Regions from separate parts of the Homo sapiens genome. Here all the other regions are linked to region 6. Evidence: promoter capture Hi-C in 16 types of primary human blood cells and fetal thymus (Javierre and others, 2016). All regions are on one chromosome and are shown on one strand. Each heading gives the region's core, a stretch centred on a gene start or on the middle of the fragment in contact. The rest is flanking DNA. Distances are from core to core; before and after follow the strand shown. Region 1 overlaps LINC01747 (long intergenic non-protein coding RNA 1747). Region 2 overlaps NAPB (NSF attachment protein beta). Region 3 has its middle 20 kb from the start of LINC01747. Region 4 overlaps LOC124904963 (a long non-coding RNA gene). Region 5 has its middle 78 kb from the start of LINC01747. Region 6 holds the start of CD93 (CD93 molecule). Region 7 has its middle 38 kb from the start of LINC01747.

The links. The method cuts DNA at HindIII sites, captures the fragments that hold promoters and counts their contacts. A CHiCAGO score of 5 or more calls a contact.
Region 1: a fragment that was not itself captured here is called in contact with the fragment with the promoter of CD93 in region 6 in 1 of 17 cell types (neutrophils); the score reaches 5.4 in neutrophils.
Region 2: a contact is called between a fragment that was not itself captured here and the fragment with the promoter of CD93 in region 6, in 2 of 17 cell types (neutrophils and monocytes). The highest score is 7.1, in neutrophils.
Region 3: a contact is called between a fragment that was not itself captured here and the fragment with the promoter of CD93 in region 6, in 1 of 17 cell types (neutrophils). The highest score is 7.0, in neutrophils.
Region 4: a fragment that was not itself captured here is called in contact with the fragment with the promoter of CD93 in region 6 in 7 of 17 cell types (neutrophils, endothelial precursors, M1 macrophages and 4 more); the score reaches 13.7 in neutrophils.
Region 5: a contact is called between a fragment that was not itself captured here and the fragment with the promoter of CD93 in region 6, in 1 of 17 cell types (neutrophils). The highest score is 5.3, in neutrophils.
Region 7: a fragment that was not itself captured here is called in contact with the fragment with the promoter of CD93 in region 6 in 3 of 17 cell types (endothelial precursors, M1 macrophages and erythroblasts); the score reaches 10.4 in endothelial precursors.

The regions. Positions count from the first base shown.
Region 1 is chr20:22,669,140-22,671,839 of GRCh38, reverse strand. LINC01747 (long intergenic non-protein coding RNA 1747) reads left to right here. Exons shown (of 3, transcript NR_146527.1): 3 at 2,320-2,700. Among named protein-coding and RNA genes, the nearest start is that of LINC01747, 15 kb to the left of the region's middle. The HindIII fragment of the contact is 3,211 bases long and covers 1-2,700 here.
Region 2 is chr20:23,415,357-23,418,056 of GRCh38, reverse strand. The region is part of intron 1 of NAPB (NSF attachment protein beta); the gene reads left to right. Among named protein-coding and RNA genes, the nearest start is that of NAPB, 4.8 kb to the left of the region's middle. The HindIII fragment of the contact is 3,803 bases long and covers 1-2,700 here.
Region 3 is chr20:22,704,450-22,707,149 of GRCh38, reverse strand. No RefSeq gene overlaps it. Among named protein-coding and RNA genes, the nearest start is that of LINC01747, 20 kb to the right of the region's middle. The HindIII fragment of the contact is 9,619 bases long and covers 1-2,700 here.
Region 4 is chr20:22,686,963-22,689,662 of GRCh38, reverse strand. The region is part of intron 1 of LOC124904963 (a long non-coding RNA gene); the gene reads right to left. Among named protein-coding and RNA genes, the nearest start is that of LINC01747, 3.0 kb to the right of the region's middle. The HindIII fragment of the contact is 4,909 bases long and covers 1-2,700 here.
Region 5 is chr20:22,762,053-22,764,752 of GRCh38, reverse strand. No RefSeq gene overlaps it. Among named protein-coding and RNA genes, the nearest start is that of LINC01747, 78 kb to the right of the region's middle. The HindIII fragment of the contact is 7,405 bases long and covers 1-2,700 here.
Region 6 is chr20:23,084,990-23,087,689 of GRCh38, reverse strand. CD93 (CD93 molecule) reads left to right here and starts at 1,366. Exons shown (of 2, transcript NM_012072.4): 1 at 1,366-2,700. The coding sequence starts at 1,498. RefSeq lists an enhancer at 1,203-1,382. The HindIII fragment of the contact is 6,182 bases long and covers 1-2,700 here.
Region 7 is chr20:22,722,013-22,724,712 of GRCh38, reverse strand. No RefSeq gene overlaps it. Among named protein-coding and RNA genes, the nearest start is that of LINC01747, 38 kb to the right of the region's middle. The HindIII fragment of the contact is 996 bases long and covers 901-1,896 here.

The DNA.
Region 1 (2,700 bases), core at 9-2,508, 420 kb after region 6:
GGTTTCACCATGTTGGCCAGGATGGTCTCGATCTCTTGACCTCATGATCTGCCTGCCTTGGCCTCTCAAAGTGCTGGGATTACAGGCTTGAGCCACCACACCAGCCTACATTTAAGTTTTTAATCCATCTTGAGTTAATTTCTGTTGGTTTTATATATGATGACAGATACAAATCTAGTTTCATTCTTCTTCTTTGGACACCCAGTTTTACCAACACTATTTATTGAACAGACTGTCCTTTTCCCATTGTGTGTTCTTGGGCATCTTTGTCTAAAATTAGTTGGCTGTAAGTGTATAGATTTATTGCTGTGTTCTCTTTTGTGTTCCATTAGTCCATCTGTCTGATTTTGTGCCAGTACCATGCTGATTTGGTTATTACAGCTTTATAGTGTACTTTGAAGTTAGGTAGTGTGATGCCTTACAGTTTTGTTCTTTTTGCTTAAGATTGCTTTGGCTATTGGGGGTCTTTTGTGATTTCATATTAATTTTATAATTGTTTTTTGTATTTCTGTGAAGAATATCATTGATACTTTGATACAGATGGCATTAAATCTATAAATATGTTTAGTAGTATAGACATTTCAACAATATTAATTCTTCTAATCCATGAACATGGAACCTCCTTTTCATTTATTTATGTCTTCTTAAATTTGTTTCACCAACGTTTAATAGTTTTTATTGCAGAGACATTTCACCTCTTTCTTAAATTTATTCCTAGGTGTTTTTGTAGCTATTGTAAATGGAATTGTTTTCTATATTTCTTTTTCAGGTAGTTTATTATTAGCATACAGAAATGCTACTAACTTTTGTACATTGATTTTTGGAATCTGCAACTTTACTGAATTGGTTTACTAGTTCTAACAGCTATTTAGTGAGGTGCTTAGGATTTTCTATCTATTATCTCATGTCATCAATAAGCAGGAACAATTTAACTTTATTCTTTTTAACTTGGATACTTTCTATTTATTTCTCTTGCCTATTTGCTCTGTCTAGTACTTTCAGTACTTTGTTGAATAAAAGTGGAAAAGGTGGGCATCCTTGTCTTGTTCCTGATCTCAGAGAAACAGCTTTCAACATTTTGCCTTCCAGAATAATGTTAGCTGTGCGTTTTTCATATATAGCAAAGCCTTTATTGTGTTGAGGTACATTCCTTCTGCACCTAATTTCTTTTTGTTTTTTATCATGAAGGGGATGTTGATTTTTGTCAAATGCTTTTTCTGCATTTATTGAAATAATCATAGGGTTTTTATCCTTCATTCTGTTAATGTGATATATTATGTTTATTGATCTGAGTATGTTGAACTATCCTTGCATTCCTAGGATGAATCCCACTTGATCCTGCTGAATGATCTTTGTGTCACACTATTGAATTTGGTTTTCTAGTATTTTGTTGAGGATTTTTACATCTATTTTCCTCAGGGGTATTGGCTCATAATTTATTTTGTTGTTGTTGTATCCTTGTCTTGTTTTGCTATCAGGATAATGCTTGCCTTACAAAATCGGTTTGAAATAATTTCCTTTTGTTCAAGTTTTTGGCCTAGTTTTTAAAAGTTGATATTAATTCTTCTTTAAATGTTTGGTGGAATTCAACAGTGAAGCCATCAGGTCCTGGGCTTTTCCTTGATGGAAGATGTTTTACTATCGATTCAGTCCCTTTTGTTATTATCAGTCTATTTAGTCTATCAATCTATTTCTTCATAGTTCAACCTTGTTAGGTTGTATGCATCCTGGAAAAAATCTTTTTTTACACACTTTATATATCAAACAGAATGCAGATTGACACATGGCATTTGTTGTACATGCCTATGCTGATGTTGAAATTTCATTGAGGTAGTTTATTTTCTATTTTCCCATCTTTCTGCTTTGCTTCTCTGGGTTCTTGATACCATCCTTTCACTCTAATGACACTGTAGTTATTCCTTTACCAGGCTCAAAGTTTTCTCTTCTCCAGAGCATTCCTCTCACGCTGCCTCTGCTTGGGCTGCCTTTCACTTCAACCCATCCTTCTTTGTTGAAATCTCACCACCATTCAAAGCAGTGCTCATGTTCCTTGCTGACCTGCCTTGACTCCCTAGCTCTTCCTTGAGACCCTGGCACATCTGATAAATGGTTTGCAAAAGTGGCCCCAAAGCTCCTCCCAAGCATATATTCACACCTGTTTGCAATCTGACTCAAATTCCATCAAGAGATGGAGTCCATTTGATGCCTCTTAAATCCAGATTGGACAAATATTTTGGCTAAGGAGACATTAGAAAATATGGCACAGTGAAGATTTGAAAAGTGCTTGTTCATTGGATCTTGGCCTCTTTTGTTGCTCAGGATACCTCTGCCTCCGAGAAAATGAGACTGGGTTGTCCTGCTGAAGGAAAAGAGTCACATGACTATTGCTCAGATAACATCAAGCTAACCACCAGGCATGTGAGTGAGACTGTCTAAGATAACCCAGTTTCAGCTGAGCTGATCCAGAGCAGAAAAGCTGTCCAGGAACCAAGGAACCTGACAGATAAGTAATTTTTCTTACTTTAAATCTTTATATTTGAATTGGTCTCTTATCCAGCAAAAACTGCCTGATATGACACCTTCACAACTCCTTTATATATTCCAACTTAATTGTAGCCTCCTTGAGCACAGAACCACTTTGACTGACATCTTCTGAAGCTCCTTCAGGACTCAGATTCTGCCTCACTCATTTAAGGAGCA
Region 2 (2,700 bases), core at 172-2,671, 330 kb before region 6:
GCTCTATCTGCAGATTAAAGCCTGTCATGAGTTCTCTAGTGTTTACCACTCACAGTGGTTTTGTGGCAATACTGTATTCTTAGTAGTATTCTATAGCTTTTGTTTCTTGCTTTCAGTAAAATTAGATGAAAATATGCATATGTATTTATGAGAACATGTCAGTCAAATATTTCTTCTCTGTGTAAGGCACAAATCCTCTGCCTTATCTGCTTGATAGGTAAGGTATCAATATTCCTTTCCCATCCCCACCTTCCTCCCCAGGAAAAGAGCTGACAAGGGATGCAAACATTGCAGGAAACCACTGTTGTGGTGGTTTGTGTTTCTGCTTAATTGCCCGTTAAGCAGTAATGTGCTTTTGTAGTTGTGGAATTAAAACTTTTTCTCAAGTTTGTAGTATAGTACGTTTAGTAAAACTACTTCCAAAGGAGTTGTCTTGTCCTTTAGTTTGTTGCCAGGGATGAGCTATGGAATTTTGTAGTTAATTTCAAATTCCAGTTTATAATGTTAATGAACTACTGGTATGATTTTAAATCGGCCTGAGTCTGACATTAAGATAGTTTTGAATTGGAAAAGCCTCTTATAATACTATCCCCTCCATCTTGTTGCTATGAGACCCGGTTGGGAATAACCTGCACAATGCACATAGAAGAAAGTGCTTAAGACTGACAGTGGAGGCCAGGTGCAGTGGCTCACGCCTGTAATCCCAGCACTCTGGGAGGCCGAGGCGGGTGGATCACTTGAGGTCAGGAGTTTGAGACCAGCCTAGCCAACATGATGAAACCCCGTCTCTACTAAAAATACAAAAATTAGCCTGGCGTGGTGGCGGGCGCCTGTAATACCAGCTACTTGGTAGGCTGAGGCAGGAGAATCACTTGAACCTTGGAGGTGGAGGTTGTAGTGAGCTGAGATTGTGCCACTGCACTCCAGCCTGGGCCCCCGAGCGAGACTCCGTCTCAAAAAAAAAAAAAAAAAAGAATGCCAGTGGAAAGATGTTCTTTATGGTTAATGCTGTCTTCCTTTGCCTTTCAGTGTTTAGTCTGAGTTTACACAAGAGCTACAAATTTGGCAATGTCAATGTAAATTTAATGAAAGGCCCCATTGGGTTATCTTGAAATAATTATGAATCTATAATTTGTTGGTTGTTTGTGAAAATTGTGAATATTTCTTAAGCATTGTAGACTGTAAATTATCAGTATTCTTCACTTGTGTTTATTTCAACAAAGATTGCTTTTAAGTTTGGCCAAAATATGGTGGGGCCATGTGATAACATAGGTGAAGCATTTAGGTTTTCCTCAGTTACAATTCTTGTTCAAATGCAGATTGAACTTTTAAAAAAATTATTAGGCTCAGGTTTACTGACAGAGACAGGTGATACAGTATAAGAAATATATACGTATATTTGTGTATCTTTCTCAAAAGAAATCGATTATAAATTGAACAATTATTTTTATAAATTATATAATATACGTAAGAAATATAATTATATTATTATTCATGGGGAGACCAGGTAGAGGCTCAAGTTCTCTCATTTACTATTTTGGTGACTATAGTCAAGTAAATCATACTCAGAACTTGTTTTTTTTAGTTTTCAGATGGGCAGAGAGACAGAATCTGTTTTTCACGATTGTTAAGGATTGAATGAGGTCAGAATGCTTATTCAGTTGCACAGAGCTATATAACTTTATTATAATTGTTTGGTTTTCTGATTTTAGGTTGTTACAGCTTGGTATCAAATGATAAACTGTTACCAGACTGGCCTTTTTCTTGTTGCATTTTTGCAGTTTTCTCCACATATTCTTTCATTCTTGTGAGCTCTGTGAGGTGCAGTTACTCTGGAGAGAGGGAGGGCCAGTAATCATATGTGGCTCCTTGGAAGTCTGCCTGTTTTGTTGCTGTGGCTAACACCTCACCCAGCCTGAGGCATGCGTTAGGCACGTGGTAAATATTGGTGGAGAGAATGAATGTATTAATGCTAATACAAATGCTGATGTTTTTTCTTTTATTCTTACCTAGTTTTCAAGAGCAAAGCTATACCAAGTAAAGGAGAGTTTAAGTCGCTTTCTTCCGTTTTATTTATGTATTTATTTTTTTGAGACGAGCTCTCACTCTGTTGCCTAGGCTGGAAGGCAGTGGCGAGATATCTGCTCACTTCAACCTTGACCTCCTGAGCTCAAGAGATCCTCCCACCTCAGCCTCCCAAGTAGCTAGGACTACAGGCATGCACTACCATGCCTGACTAATTTTGTATTTTTTGTAGAGACAGGGTCTTGCTATGTTGCCCAGGCTTGTCTCCAACTCCGGGACTCAAGCGATCTGCTCTGCTGACCTCAGCCTCCCAAAGTGCTGCGATTACAGGTGTTAGCCACTGTACTAGGCATTTTATTTAAATATTTGCTTATTATGAACATTGTAGCTGTACACGGTAGAAAAGTACAAGGAGTACAGAGAGTTTTCTTTTTTTTTGAAATGGAGTCTTGCTCTGTTGCCCAGGCTGGAGTGCAGTGGCATGATCTTGGCTCACTGCAACCTCTGCCTCCTGGGTTCAAGTGATTCTGCTGCCTCAGTCTCCTGAGTAGCTTGGATTACAGATGGGTGCCACCACACCCAGCTAATTTTTGTATTTTTAGTAGAGACAGGGTTTCACCATGTTGGCCAGGCTGGTCTTGAACTTCTGACCTCATGATCCGTCCACCTCGGCCT
Region 3 (2,700 bases), core at 87-2,586, 380 kb after region 6:
TAAATATTTCACAGATAAGCAAAAACAAAGGGAATTCAACACCACTAGACTGGCCTTACAAGAAATGCTCAAGAGAGTCTTACATGTGTAAGTGAAGAGACAATAACTACCATCAGAAAACACAGAAAACTATAAAACTCACTGGTAGAGCTGATACACAAAGAAGGAAGAGAAGGAAATCAAACCTTATCACTATGGAGAACCACCCAACTACAAAAATAAACAATAAGAGTGAAAGTAAGGAACAAAGGATATACAAAACAAGCAGAAAACAATCAATAAAATGACAGGAGTAAGTCCTCACTTATCAATAATAACCTTGAATGTGAACAGGATAAATTCACCCATATAAAAGATGTAGACTAACTGAATGAATAAAAAACCAAGACCCAACTATATGCTACCTACAAGAAACTCATCTTATCTGTAAAGGTACATGTAGCCTGAAAGTAAAGGGATAAAAATGTATCTAAGAAATATATCCCTTTTGGTTTTTTGGACAAAACCAAAAGCAAGGAGTAGCTATGCTTGTATCAAAAATAGACTTCAAGTCACAAGCTGTCAAAAAAGACAAAGAAAGACATTATGTAATAACAAAGGGATCAATTCAGCCAGAGACTATAACAATTATAAATATATATATAAATATATATGCACCTAATATGCACCTAATAATACCCAGATATATAAAGCAAATATTATTAGATCTAAAGGAGAAGCTACCATAATTGTTGGGGACTTGAACACCCCAATCTCAGCATTGTGCAGACCTTCTAGACAGTAAATTAACAATGACAATTAAAACAACAACAACAACATTGGATTTAAACTGCACTATAGACCAAGTGGACCTAACAGATATTTATAGAACATTTCACCCAACAGCTGGAGAATACACATTCTTTTCATCAGTGCATGGAAAATTCTTTAGGATTGACCACATGTTAGAATACAAAACAAGTTTGAAAAAAAATTTATAAATCAAAATTATATCAAGTACCTTATTGACTACAATGAAATAAAATAAAACTAGACATCAATAGCAAGAATATTCAAAATAATGTAAATATATGGAAATTAAACAGCATTCTCCTAAAAGGCCAATGGGTGAAGGAAGAAATCAATAATGATAGTTAAAAATTCCTTGAAACAAACGAAAATAGAAACACAACATAGCAAAACCTATAGGTCATGGCAAAAGCAGTATTAAGAGGCAAGTTTATAGCAATAAATGCCTACATCAAAAAATTAGAAAGATTTCACATAAACAGCCTCATGATGCGCCTCATGAAATCAGAAAAGCAAGAACAAACCAAATGCCAAATTCATAGGAGAGAAATAATAAAGATCAAGGCCAGGCATGGTGGCTCATGTCAGTAATCCCAGCATTTTGGGAGGCCAGGAAGGGAGGATCATTTGGGGTCAGGAGTTCAATGTCAGCCTTGTCAACATAGTGAGACCATGTATCTACAAAAAATTTAAAATAAAATTAGCCAGGAGTGGTGATTCATGCCTCTAGTCTTAGCTACTTGGGAGGCTGGGGTGGGAGGATGTTTTGAGCCTAAGTTCAAGACTGCAGTGAACTATGATAGTACAACTGTACTCCAGCCTGTGACAGAGTGAAGCTCTGTCAAAAAAAAAAAAAAAAAAAAGCAAAAATAAATGAAATTAAAACAAAAAAAATGCAAAAGATAAATGAAACAAAAAATAGATTTTTCTGAAATGATAAAATTGGCAAACCATTAGCTAGACTAAGAAAAAAAAGGGAACATACTCAAGTACATGAAATCAAAAATGGAAAAGGATACATCATAAAGGATAGCACAGAAATAAAAAGGAGCCTTAAAAACTACTATAAACAACTATATGCCAATACATTCAAAAACTTAGAGGAAAAGGATAAGTTTCTGGACACATACATCCTATCAAAATTGAACCAAGAAGAAATAGAAAACCTGAATAGACCAATATTGCGTGAAAATATTAAATAGGTAATAAAAAGTCTCCCAATAAAGTTAAGTCTAGGACCAGATGACTCCACTGCTGAATTCCATCAAATCTTTAAAGAAAAATGCATACCAATTCTTCTCAAACTATTCAAAAAAACTGAAGAGGAGTGAGTTCTTCCTAACTCATTTTACAAAGCCAGCATAACCCTGAGACCAAAACCAGAAAATGACACAACAAAAAAAGAAAATAAAGTATCAAAATAGTTAAGATATTTTTGACAAAACGACAAAAATAGAAAAAAAATCTAAACTACATAAAAGACTCTAAATACCCAAAGCAATCTTGAGCAGAAAGAACAAAACTGGAGGCAATTACTTTACCAGACTACAAGATATACCACAAAGCTATAGTAACCAAAACAGTGTGGTACTGGCATAAAAACAGACACAAATACCAATTGTACAGTACAGTGGACCCAGAAGTTAATTCACATATCTATAGCCAACTGATTTTTAACAGAGTTGCCTAGGTCGCTCACTGAGGGAGAGGACTGTCTCTTCAATAAGTGGTCTTTAGAAAACTGAATATTCATATGCAGATGAATAAAACTCTCACTCTACAAAAATAAACTTAAAATGGATCCCAGACCTAATTGTAAGACCTGAAACTATAAAATTACTAGAAGAAAACAGGGAAAATGCTTCATTACTTTGGTCTGGGAAAATATTTTATGAATAAGACCTCAAAAGC
Region 4 (2,700 bases), core at 44-2,543, 400 kb after region 6:
GCTAGGGAGTTCTGAGACAGAGTCAGGGCTGGTCACACCCCAGAGAGGCCGCACTGGCGATGAAGGAGCTGGAATATTCATATTCTGCAAGTAGTAAAGGGTTAACCTTGCCCAAAGAAAGGTGTGGCCCTGGCACAGCTCCTGGAAGGCAGCCTCTAAGTCCTTTAATCTCTAATGTCCTGTCTGATAAGTGTCTGTTTACCGAGGCCTTAGGCCACACCAGGTAGTTGATGCTAAGGATAGGATTCACAGTGGAGGTCTTGTATCAGCTTGATCTGTCAAGGGGCTGGAGACCAGGTCAGCCATGTAGATTGTCCATCATGTTTACGTGACCAAGCCTTCAATAAAAACCCTGGACGCCAAGGCTCAGGTCAGTGTCCCTGGTCAGCAATATTCCATGCATGCTGCCCCATGTCATTACTGGGAGAACTAAGCACTGCTGCAGAGCCCCACTAGGAGAGGACACTGGAGCACCACAGCTAGAGCTCTCCTGGGACCCACCCTAGGTGCATCTTCCCACTGCTGACTTCGACTTGCTGTGTAGTGTTGGAACCATGTGTAGTAAGAGGTAATCGTGAATCTGGTGACCTTTCTGGTTCCTATGAGTTCTCTTGAATCATTGAACCTGAGGGATGTCTTGCGTCCCTTGCATCCACCCATCACTGGGTAAGGACTGTCTCAGGCCCCCATGCAAGCAGGGTGAGCACAAGGGCTCCAGCAGCCTTGGGACAGCTGCTCACAGAGAGAAGCTGGCACTGGCTGTGGGGGTCATAGCGGCACCCAGGAACAGCATGCACAGATGGGGAAAGGTACCCCAGGGATGCATGGGGCACTGACAGGGCTGGAGGTCAATGTGAGGGCTTCAGTTCCCAAAGCCCCTGTTCTTCCCAGCATCTGGGTGTGGTATCAAGAATTACTTTGGCAAACTGATATGAAGATATTGGTAAACACGAGAACATCTCTCATCATTAATGAGTCATCATATGCTGTTACATAATCAGGCCCCAACCCCTCCGACCAGTGGTTAGAAGCAGAACAAGCTGTTGTGAACTATACATCTAATGCTAATTAGTATGGCTTTAGAGCAGTGCTTCTAGGGCTGCAGCAAGCCCTGGAGTCCCCTGGAGGGCTGTGGGCACACAAGGGTGGAGCCCACCCTCTGAGTCTCTGATTTAGCAGGTCTGGGGAAGGACCTGAGCATTTGCACTTCCAGCTCCTGGGTGACGCTGCTGACAGCCCAGCACACGCTTGGAGAAGACAACTTTAAAGGTGCAGCCATGGGGCGAGCTTGCCAGGGGCCAGTTCTCCATTCTGGTGAGGAAGACGGTGAGCAAAGGGTAACAGGGAAGGTAAATGGCCAAGAGGGCAGGAAGGGCTAGAGGTGGACATGGGTAGGGACACGAGTAGAGGACAAAATGCCCACGTCTCCAACTCCCCAGGGGAACAATTCCCAGGTGTGGTCCACGTGGTTTCTTAGACTTTGGCAGGCCTAAGCCCCCATGCCCACACAGGCTTTTTCCACAGAAGTGGATCTTGATGTGGCACAAAGAGGAAGTGCTGCTAAGAAAAAGGGAATTGAGTTCTGCTTGGTGTGGATCCTCCCAAAGTGGATCCAGAGACAAGGGCTTGGGTGCAGGCAGCTTATGTGGAAGGTGGTCCCAGGAAGCACAAATGAGGGAGTAGGGAAGTGAATGGAGGAGGCAAGGAAAAAGATAATGGAGGCGTCAAGGGCAGGTTACCCGTGTGAGCATCCAAACTCAATTCTCTGGGCTGGGGGTCTTGCCTGTGCTCCCCTTTCTAGGTAAGTACATTCACAGTGAAGCAGGCTCCTGTGATGGGGAAGCCCTCAGGCAGAGACAAGGGCTTGAATGGGAAGTTGTCAATTTACAGCAATCTGCCCCTCATGGCTGAAGATGAACACAGGTAGGCTGAGGGGATACAGGATGGGGCACCAACAATTTATCTGAGGGGTTTGATCAACATGTCATAAAGTGAAAAGAATCATGTCTGTTTTGCAATGAGATGCTTGTCACCCTTGAAGCACTGACAGAAGAGGGTGCCCACTGCCACCCAGACAGTGACTGCCCAGGATTCTGATGCAGAGAAAATCACATGCTTAACAGCAGAGAAATGCCACCTACCATTTAAAACAGGCCCTGACCCCATTCAGGAGGATGAGTAACAGTGAGCGAGGGCACATCCACTGCAAGAAGATGAATTCACAAACTCTAACACCCATGTCCCCTTGCCCAAAATTTAGCTCCAAAAATGATAAAGAAACACATTATTTTAAAACCACCTTACGTTTGACCTTGTCGTGAGTTCAAACTATGCAAACAAGTAAAGGAAATCATTGCAGATTGGGATACACGATGTGAAACAAATAAACAGGACAACATGATAGAAAGTAAAGTAAATTGCAGTGAGGGTGGGGTGAGTGGGTGCATTAGCTATGATTTTCAATGAGAGCCTCTGATAAAGTAACATTTGCTTTTTGTTCCCATGTTACCTGAGAGGGCAACAGAAAGTTTGAGGGATGAGAAAGTGGCAGCCACATGGAGCTCCAGGGAAGGAATATTTAAAGCAGAAGGAAAGCAAGTGCCAAGGCCCTGGGGTAAGAAAGAGGTGGGAGTCTTAGAACATGAAGGACGTGTGGCCGGGCGTGGTGACTCACACCTGTAATCCAGCACTTTGGGAGGC
Region 5 (2,700 bases), core at 118-2,617, 320 kb after region 6:
ACAGGCACACAGGCAAGCTGGGCACCCAGAGACTGCAAGGTCACAGGACATTGCTCACCCCCACACCTCATCTGATGGTTAAGGGAGGAGCCACCAGGAGGCATGAGTGATGCTGAGTGACACCGGATCACCAGATGAAGACCCAGGCCTCACGCCGTCCAGGTCTGCAAGTGGACAGCAGGTGACCATGGCCCTGAGATCAGAGCAATCATCCTGGACTTGTCAGGAAAGTGAACCCGAGTGGGGCCACCTCATTTGGGAACTTCTGCTCTACAGAGTCATGGTATTAAGATGATGGGTTGGGGCTGGGCACGGTGGCTCACGCTTTTAATCCCAACACTTTGAGAGGCTGAGGTGGGCGGATCATGAGGTCAGGAGATCGAGACCATCCTGGCCAACATGGTGAAACCCTGTCTCAACTAAAAATACAAAAATTAGCTGGGAGTGGTAGTGTGTGCCTGTAGTCCCAGGTACTTGGGATGGTGAGGCAGGAGAATCGCTTGAGGCAGGAGAATCGCTTGAACCTGGGAGGCGGAGGTTGCAGTGAGCTGAGATGGCGTCATTGCACTCCAGCCCGGGTAACAGAGTGAGATTCCATCTAAAAAAAAAAAAAAAAAAAATATATATATATATATATATATATATGATGGGTTGGGTTGGGAGGCACTGCTGACCATCTAAAGGGGGCACTGGTGTCTACAGTCCATCCCAAGGGACATACAGCCTCCTCCTTCTGTTAAGTGGGTACTTCAGGGAGCTGAGGGCTTGGCCCAGGCTCTAGGGGGACCATGAACTATTGGTCAGTTGTCAAAGGGGCATCACAGTCACAGCCTAGTCCTGTGCCCCTGGCTTCATCCCAGAAGGTGTGGGACAGTTCGAGTGGCCTGATTTGCCTTCTCTGATACAATTGTCTTGCTTTTACTGAGCTGAGTTTCTCTCTAGGTTTGCCTCAGCACAGCTCTTAAAATAGCAGCCAGTTAGGTTGGCCAGCCTGGAATTTCCTGGAACCGCCCAGCACGGGGCAGTAGGCACTCAGGCCCTCCCTACCTATCTATCCAGGGGCTGCCTGACCCATGGCTCTTTTCCTGCTTCCGATCCCGTCCCACCCTTTGAATTGGGTCAAGAGGGTTTGGTACTGAGTCTATCCAGGAGAGTCCACCACCACTCCCTTCCCCAACCCAGGGTGTAACAGGATAAAAAGGTATTTGGGGGGTTCCCATGGCAGGCAGGCTGTGGGCACACGGGCGTGGGGCCAGAGATGGGGGCCTGGGCATGACACTGTCTGAGGTTACAGGCTCAGCAGCATTCTCTCCATTTGTGGAATTTTTTCTATTAAATTGCACTTTCTCACTTGTTGGGAATGATTCAGAAATTCTCTCAAAGTTATGCTTTGCCGGTGAACTCTCTGGCATTTGAATAAAGGCACAGAGATCACTCCAGGCACTTCCTGGTGAGTTGAGCTGACACACCCGGCCTCTCCTTGGGATGTGTAGGGGTCTCATCTGGCCACGCTAAGACGTTTATGTTTTTCATGTAGGATTTCTTCTTGCTCACATTGGGGAAACCAGTTCACTTAAAACGAAAGAACCGCTACAACAAAAGACAGACAGACAGAGAGACAGACACAAATAGACAGTGGTGCCAGCCTGAGTGCTGGGTCCTGAGCACAGAGGAATGCAGGGCTCCCAGAATCTGGAGTCTGCCATCTCTCCACTTCCCCTGATTAGGGAGGACAGGGAAAGTCAGAGAATTAGAACAGGACTCTCTGGCACTGATGTCTGTTAACATTAAAGTATGGTGGTCCAACTTGAAGATATTTCTGCTCCCTGCCCCTGTGGGATCAAACCCTTTCCACATGGAACGCTGTCCCCTTGATACACACTCCACATTCTGAGTGTGTCATAAGTGCCCAGCCGGGGGTGACCCCAGGACACAGCTGTGAGCCAGGCAGACCTGCCCAGGCCCTCATGAGGCCTTGTCTTGCCCCACCCTTCCCTGGCCATGTGGCCTCTCTCAGCCTGTGGGGCACACTCTACAGGCCTGGGCCTGTCTATGCCTTCCAGGTGCCTTTGTACATCCACTGACATGTTAGGTGTTGCTTTTATATAATGCAAACTTTGGGCATGATTAATTTGAGGATTTTGGGACCTTCTCTTTGCCTGCAGAAAACATCCATTTCCCTTGGTTAACATTTCTACTTCCCAGGAAATGAAGCTGACACAGACTGCCCCTTCCTGGGGTGGCGGTGGGAGCTCATCTTGCCCCAGTGCTCTGTCTCTCTCTGCCTCTACGTCTCTCTCTCTCTCTGTCTCTGTGTCTCTCTCTGCCTCTGTCTCTATGTCTCTCTCTGTCTCTGTCTCTGTGTCTCTCTCTGTCTCTATGTCTCTCTCTGTCTCTGTCTCTATGTCTCTCTCTCTGTCTCTCTCTGTCTCTGTCTCTCTCTCTCTCTGTCTCTCTCTGTCTCTATGTCTCTCTGTCTCTGTCTCTATGTTTCTCTCTGTCTCTGTGTCTCTCTCTTTCTGTCTCTGTGTGTCTCTCTGTCTCTATATCTCTCTCTCTGTTTCTCCCTATGTCTCCCTCTCTCTGTGTCTCTCTCTGTCTCTATGTCTCTCTCTCTTTCTCTCGGACTCTCTGTCTCTGTTTCTTTGTCTCTGTCTCTCTCTCTTTAACCACTTTATTGAGATACCATTCACCCTCTCA
Region 6 (2,700 bases), core at 117-2,616:
TGCCTCCTGCATCTCCCCTGACCCACACCCCAACCCAACTCTCCTCCCATCAGGGATCTCTTAGGAAGTGGCTGTCTTGATAGGAATAAACTGGACATGGGTCAGACGAGAGCCACAAGGGTGTCTGTCCATAGAAACAAGTTTTATGTGAGAGAGACCCCTGGTCACTGGGCAGGGCTAGAATTTATAGTCAGTCTCTCAAAGTGAGAGATACAGCCTGCTACCAATGACAGGGGACTTGGAGAGCAGTGGAGCCTCTCCCTCAGCTGAGATGGTGCTGAGGTGTGGTCCCCTCAGGCCCCCAGAGTTTCCTGGCACTGGCTCCAGCAGCCCAGGGTCACCTTCTCAGCAAGTCATCATGGGTTGGCTTCCTCCTTGTCTGTTTCACTTCCCCTCCCACATAAACTAGTCTCCCCAAATCCTGTCTCAGGGTCCCCTCCTGGGGGATCCCAACCAATGAGCAAAGGTCTGTGGCTGCAGGAAAAGCACACTGTGAGTCCCTGGCTTTTGCCGAGTCGCGGTGTCGCGGGAGGGCCTGCCCGGGCTTCGATTCCCGCTCCCTGCCCAGATTTCCGGCCCTTGCTAGGAATCCTGAGCCGGGGGAAGTGAGCCTGCAAGCCCTGCGCCACGAGGCCGGACACATTTTCATTTTCTTTCTGATGCTTTTTGTGACCCTGACACCTCACAATGCAATATTTCCACTATGAAACCCCCAGAACTGCCAAATTTCACCCAATTTGGATTAACATTATCGAGGAGCTTGGCATTATGTTGAAAACCCAGACATTCCCACGACCCGTATCCTATTTAAAAAATGCCTGTCTATTTAAGGTTCACGATGGGAGGATAAAAGAAAAAAGGCTCCCAAAGTCAACAGAGAACATGAGCTAGGCAAAAGGAAAGTCCAGTTTGCTTCTAAAAAAGGCTGAAAATTATAACCATCCATGGCCTTGTGTCTTAAGTCTCAGAATTTTTTTTTTCTCTTTTGGTGGTTTGCAAACCAAAGTGGAATTTTATTATGGGTTACTAAGGGAGCTTCCTCGAGTTCCTAGCCCCCAAAGCCCCTGCTCACTCCATGGCATGCCTCCGAGGCTCCTCATGCCATGAGAAAGAGAATGGAGCCAAAATCAAGCCGGCAGTATCTCGGGGCTGTAACGTCTTCCCCCCGTCGCTGTTTCCACAGTGCTGAGCCAGGGACCCGGCAGAGCTGCCTGACTCCTTTTATGAACAACAGCACCGTGATGAAGGCAGCAGGAGTCAGAGAACTATTCATTGCAGGAAGCCCCAACATCCGGTGAGAAATAAGAAGTACAACAGTACAGGATGCGCCTTGGGTCAGGGGGACGTGGAAAGCCCTCAGCCTTTGTGTCCTTCTCTGCGCCGGAGTGGCTGCAGCTCACCCCTCAGCTCCCCTTGGGGCCCAGCTGGGAGCCGAGATAGAAGCTCCTGTCGCCGCTGGGCTTCTCGCCTCCCGCAGAGGGCCACACAGAGACCGGGATGGCCACCTCCATGGGCCTGCTGCTGCTGCTGCTGCTGCTCCTGACCCAGCCCGGGGCGGGGACGGGAGCTGACACGGAGGCGGTGGTCTGCGTGGGGACCGCCTGCTACACGGCCCACTCGGGCAAGCTGAGCGCTGCCGAGGCCCAGAACCACTGCAACCAGAACGGGGGCAACCTGGCCACTGTGAAGAGCAAGGAGGAGGCCCAGCACGTCCAGCGAGTACTGGCCCAGCTCCTGAGGCGGGAGGCAGCCCTGACGGCGAGGATGAGCAAGTTCTGGATTGGGCTCCAGCGAGAGAAGGGCAAGTGCCTGGACCCTAGTCTGCCGCTGAAGGGCTTCAGCTGGGTGGGCGGGGGGGAGGACACGCCTTACTCTAACTGGCACAAGGAGCTCCGGAACTCGTGCATCTCCAAGCGCTGTGTGTCTCTGCTGCTGGACCTGTCCCAGCCGCTCCTTCCCAGCCGCCTCCCCAAGTGGTCTGAGGGCCCCTGTGGGAGCCCAGGCTCCCCCGGAAGTAACATTGAGGGCTTCGTGTGCAAGTTCAGCTTCAAAGGCATGTGCCGGCCTCTGGCCCTGGGGGGCCCAGGTCAGGTGACCTACACCACCCCCTTCCAGACCACCAGTTCCTCCTTGGAGGCTGTGCCCTTTGCCTCTGCGGCCAATGTAGCCTGTGGGGAAGGTGACAAGGACGAGACTCAGAGTCATTATTTCCTGTGCAAGGAGAAGGCCCCCGATGTGTTCGACTGGGGCAGCTCGGGCCCCCTCTGTGTCAGCCCCAAGTATGGCTGCAACTTCAACAATGGGGGCTGCCACCAGGACTGCTTTGAAGGGGGGGATGGCTCCTTCCTCTGCGGCTGCCGACCAGGATTCCGGCTGCTGGATGACCTGGTGACCTGTGCCTCTCGAAACCCTTGCAGCTCCAGCCCATGTCGTGGGGGGGCCACGTGCGTCCTGGGACCCCATGGGAAAAACTACACGTGCCGCTGCCCCCAAGGGTACCAGCTGGACTCGAGTCAGCTGGACTGTGTGGACGTGGATGAATGCCAGGACTCCCCCTGTGCCCAGGAGTGTGTCAACACCCCTGGGGGCTTCCGCTGCGAATGCTGGGTTGGCTATGAGCCGGGCGGTCCTGGAGAGGGGGCCTGTCAGGATGTGGATGAGTGTGCTCTGGGTCGCTCGCCTTGCGCCCAGGGCTGCACC
Region 7 (2,700 bases), core at 149-2,648, 360 kb after region 6:
TGAAACTCTATCTCAAAAAAAAAAATCATATTTTAAAAAAGATAGTGGCTCATCCATTTTATCCAGTATTGTTTACCCACTTATCTTTGTTGATGTGAAGCCCCAGGCAGGTATCACTGTCTACTGGTGCTTTCGAGAGGCCAGTACTGGTTCCAGATCTACCAGGACTGACCCTCACCTCCTGCCCTGATGTGCCTCTGGGAGGGGCTGCCAGGCTGACTGGACAGAGGTGTGAGCTCTGAGAACTGGACTTGACCTCTGCCACAGGGAAGTCAGGCAGGTGAGAGGGGCTTCTCCAAAACAAAATCCTCCATAAAGAAGGCATCTGCATCATTCTTTAGCTGCTGCCCAACCTACATACTGAGCGCTCAAAGGAGTCTCCTATTCACCGAGCATCTTTTTTTATTTTATTTCATTTTTTTTTTGAGACAGAGTCTCTCTGTTGCCCAGGCTGGAGTGCAGTGGCATGATCTTGCCTTATTGCAACCTCCGCCTCCCAGGTTCAAGTGATTTTCCTGCCTCAGCCTCCCAAGTAGCTGGGATTACAGGCATTCACCACCACCCCCAGCTAATTTTTGTATTTTTAGTAGAGACGGTGTTTCACCATGTTGGCCAGGATGGTCTCAATCTCCTGACCTCATGATCCACCCACCTCAGCCTCCCAAAGTGCTGGGATTACAGGCTTGAGCCACCGCACCTGGTCTGAGCACCTTCTTTGAGGCAAACATTTATAGCTGGGCAGCTGGGATTCAGCCTGCAGTGATTCAGCTCATGAGCACAGCACAAACAGAAGCTGATCTGCAGACACATTAAACATCTTGCCTTCATTACTCTAAGTGAAGTAACTCTGGAATGGAAAATCAAATACCACATGTTCTCACCACAAGTGGGAGCTAAGCTTTGAGTACACAGAAGTATACAGTGGTGTAACGGACTTTGAAGACTCAGAAGAGAAAAGGTGGGAGGGAGTGAGGGATAAATACTATATATTGGGTACAATATATACTACTCAGGTGATGGGTGCCTCATCACCCTCAGACTTCCTCACTATACAATTCATCCATGTAAGCAAAAACCACTTGTACCCCCAAAGCTATTGAAATAAAGAAAGATTTAAACAAAAAAATCTTGCCTAGGGTCCCATGGCCCAGTAAAGAGCCTATCTGATCCCAAACCCCGTGCTCTGCTGGCACCTGTGTTCTGCTTCAGCAGATCTCAGCAAGGCAGCCCTGGACCCAGCACACCAGCCATGACCCCAAAGGAAAGGCTGCTTCCCCATGGTCAAAGGATTGTTGGATGGGACACATTGCTGTGGACTCTCTTTGTGTTCACATGACTTTTCTTTCGGGTCCTTAACACTTTCTCCTTTCTTATCTCACTTCTGTTCTTTCCACACCCTTCAATCTGCTCTGAAAGCTCTGAAGCACCCACCCCAGCATGGGGGACTGGAGCAGGCTGGCTGAGCAGGTGCCCTGTAGGCTCCACGGCCAAGCCCCTGGCAGCCCTTCTCTGCTGGTGGGCCACCAATTGGTGACGTCTGTACTCAGCTGCTGGGGGGACTGAGTTGCAACTGGCACTGCCCTGGGATGGCTGTGGCTGCAATGGCATGCTGGCTGGACTGTCCCCATCAGAAGCATCCCAGCAGTGCCTCACCCCCTGCATGGATGTCCCTGGGAGTGGGCCTCTCTACTAGCTCTGAGCTCCTCTTCCTTCCCCTTGGGACAGCCTCACTTTTCCTTCAGGAAAGGCAAGGCCCTTGGGCAGGAAGTCCCACACCCAATGGAACAAGCCCTTCAGGGAGCCCTTGACCCTGCTGTCAGCCTCAAAAGGAGACAGGGATGGATTGCAGCAGGAACATGTGGTAATGGGCCATGTCAGCCCAAGAAAACATAAGCTTAAGGAAGTGATCACTTGACATTTTATATACAAAAATGTCATTATTAAAGAGAATCATGAGGACTTCCATAAATATTTAAAACCCACTGGATAAAATATGACTATTTTTATGTTATGTATTTTTGTGAGCCTTATCATAGTGTAGAAAGAGTAGAATATTTTATGAAGAGTTTTACATAGAACTCATAACCTTCTCCAAACTTTTACTCTTTTTATTTGCTTTCTATTATTATACATTAGTATAATGTCTTTCCAATAATCATCTTTTTCCATCATTCATATAAGTCACGAAGTCATTTGTGTTTCATTACTTTTATGCTCATCTTGTTCCCAAGAAATGGATTTCTTTTGGAAGATAACAAAAGATCCATTGCATAATCCCATTCTTTCTAAATCCTCGAAAGAGACCAACACTTTTATCATTTTCATTGTTCTTAGGCTCTATTCTTTCACCTTTAAACTGTCCATGTCTAATCTATTCTATTCTAAACCTCTGTGGATAATTTGTTCTTCACATGCCATTTTAGGAGGGAAAAAAAAACTTATATAAAAACACTTAAGAAACAGACAGCTTAAAAAAAATGAGCAAAGGAACCTGAATAGATACCTCAGAGAAGAAGAAACCCAAATACATGTGAAAAGATGTTCCACCTCATCAGCCATCAGGAAAATGGAAAGTAAAGCCATGATGAGCTATTGTTACTGTCAAAGATAAACAGCCCGACACTAGGTAAAGGGGTAAGGACCGATTTTAGTAATAACTAGTGAAATAGGGAAAAGAGTCCTCCATGAAGGGAACTCAAC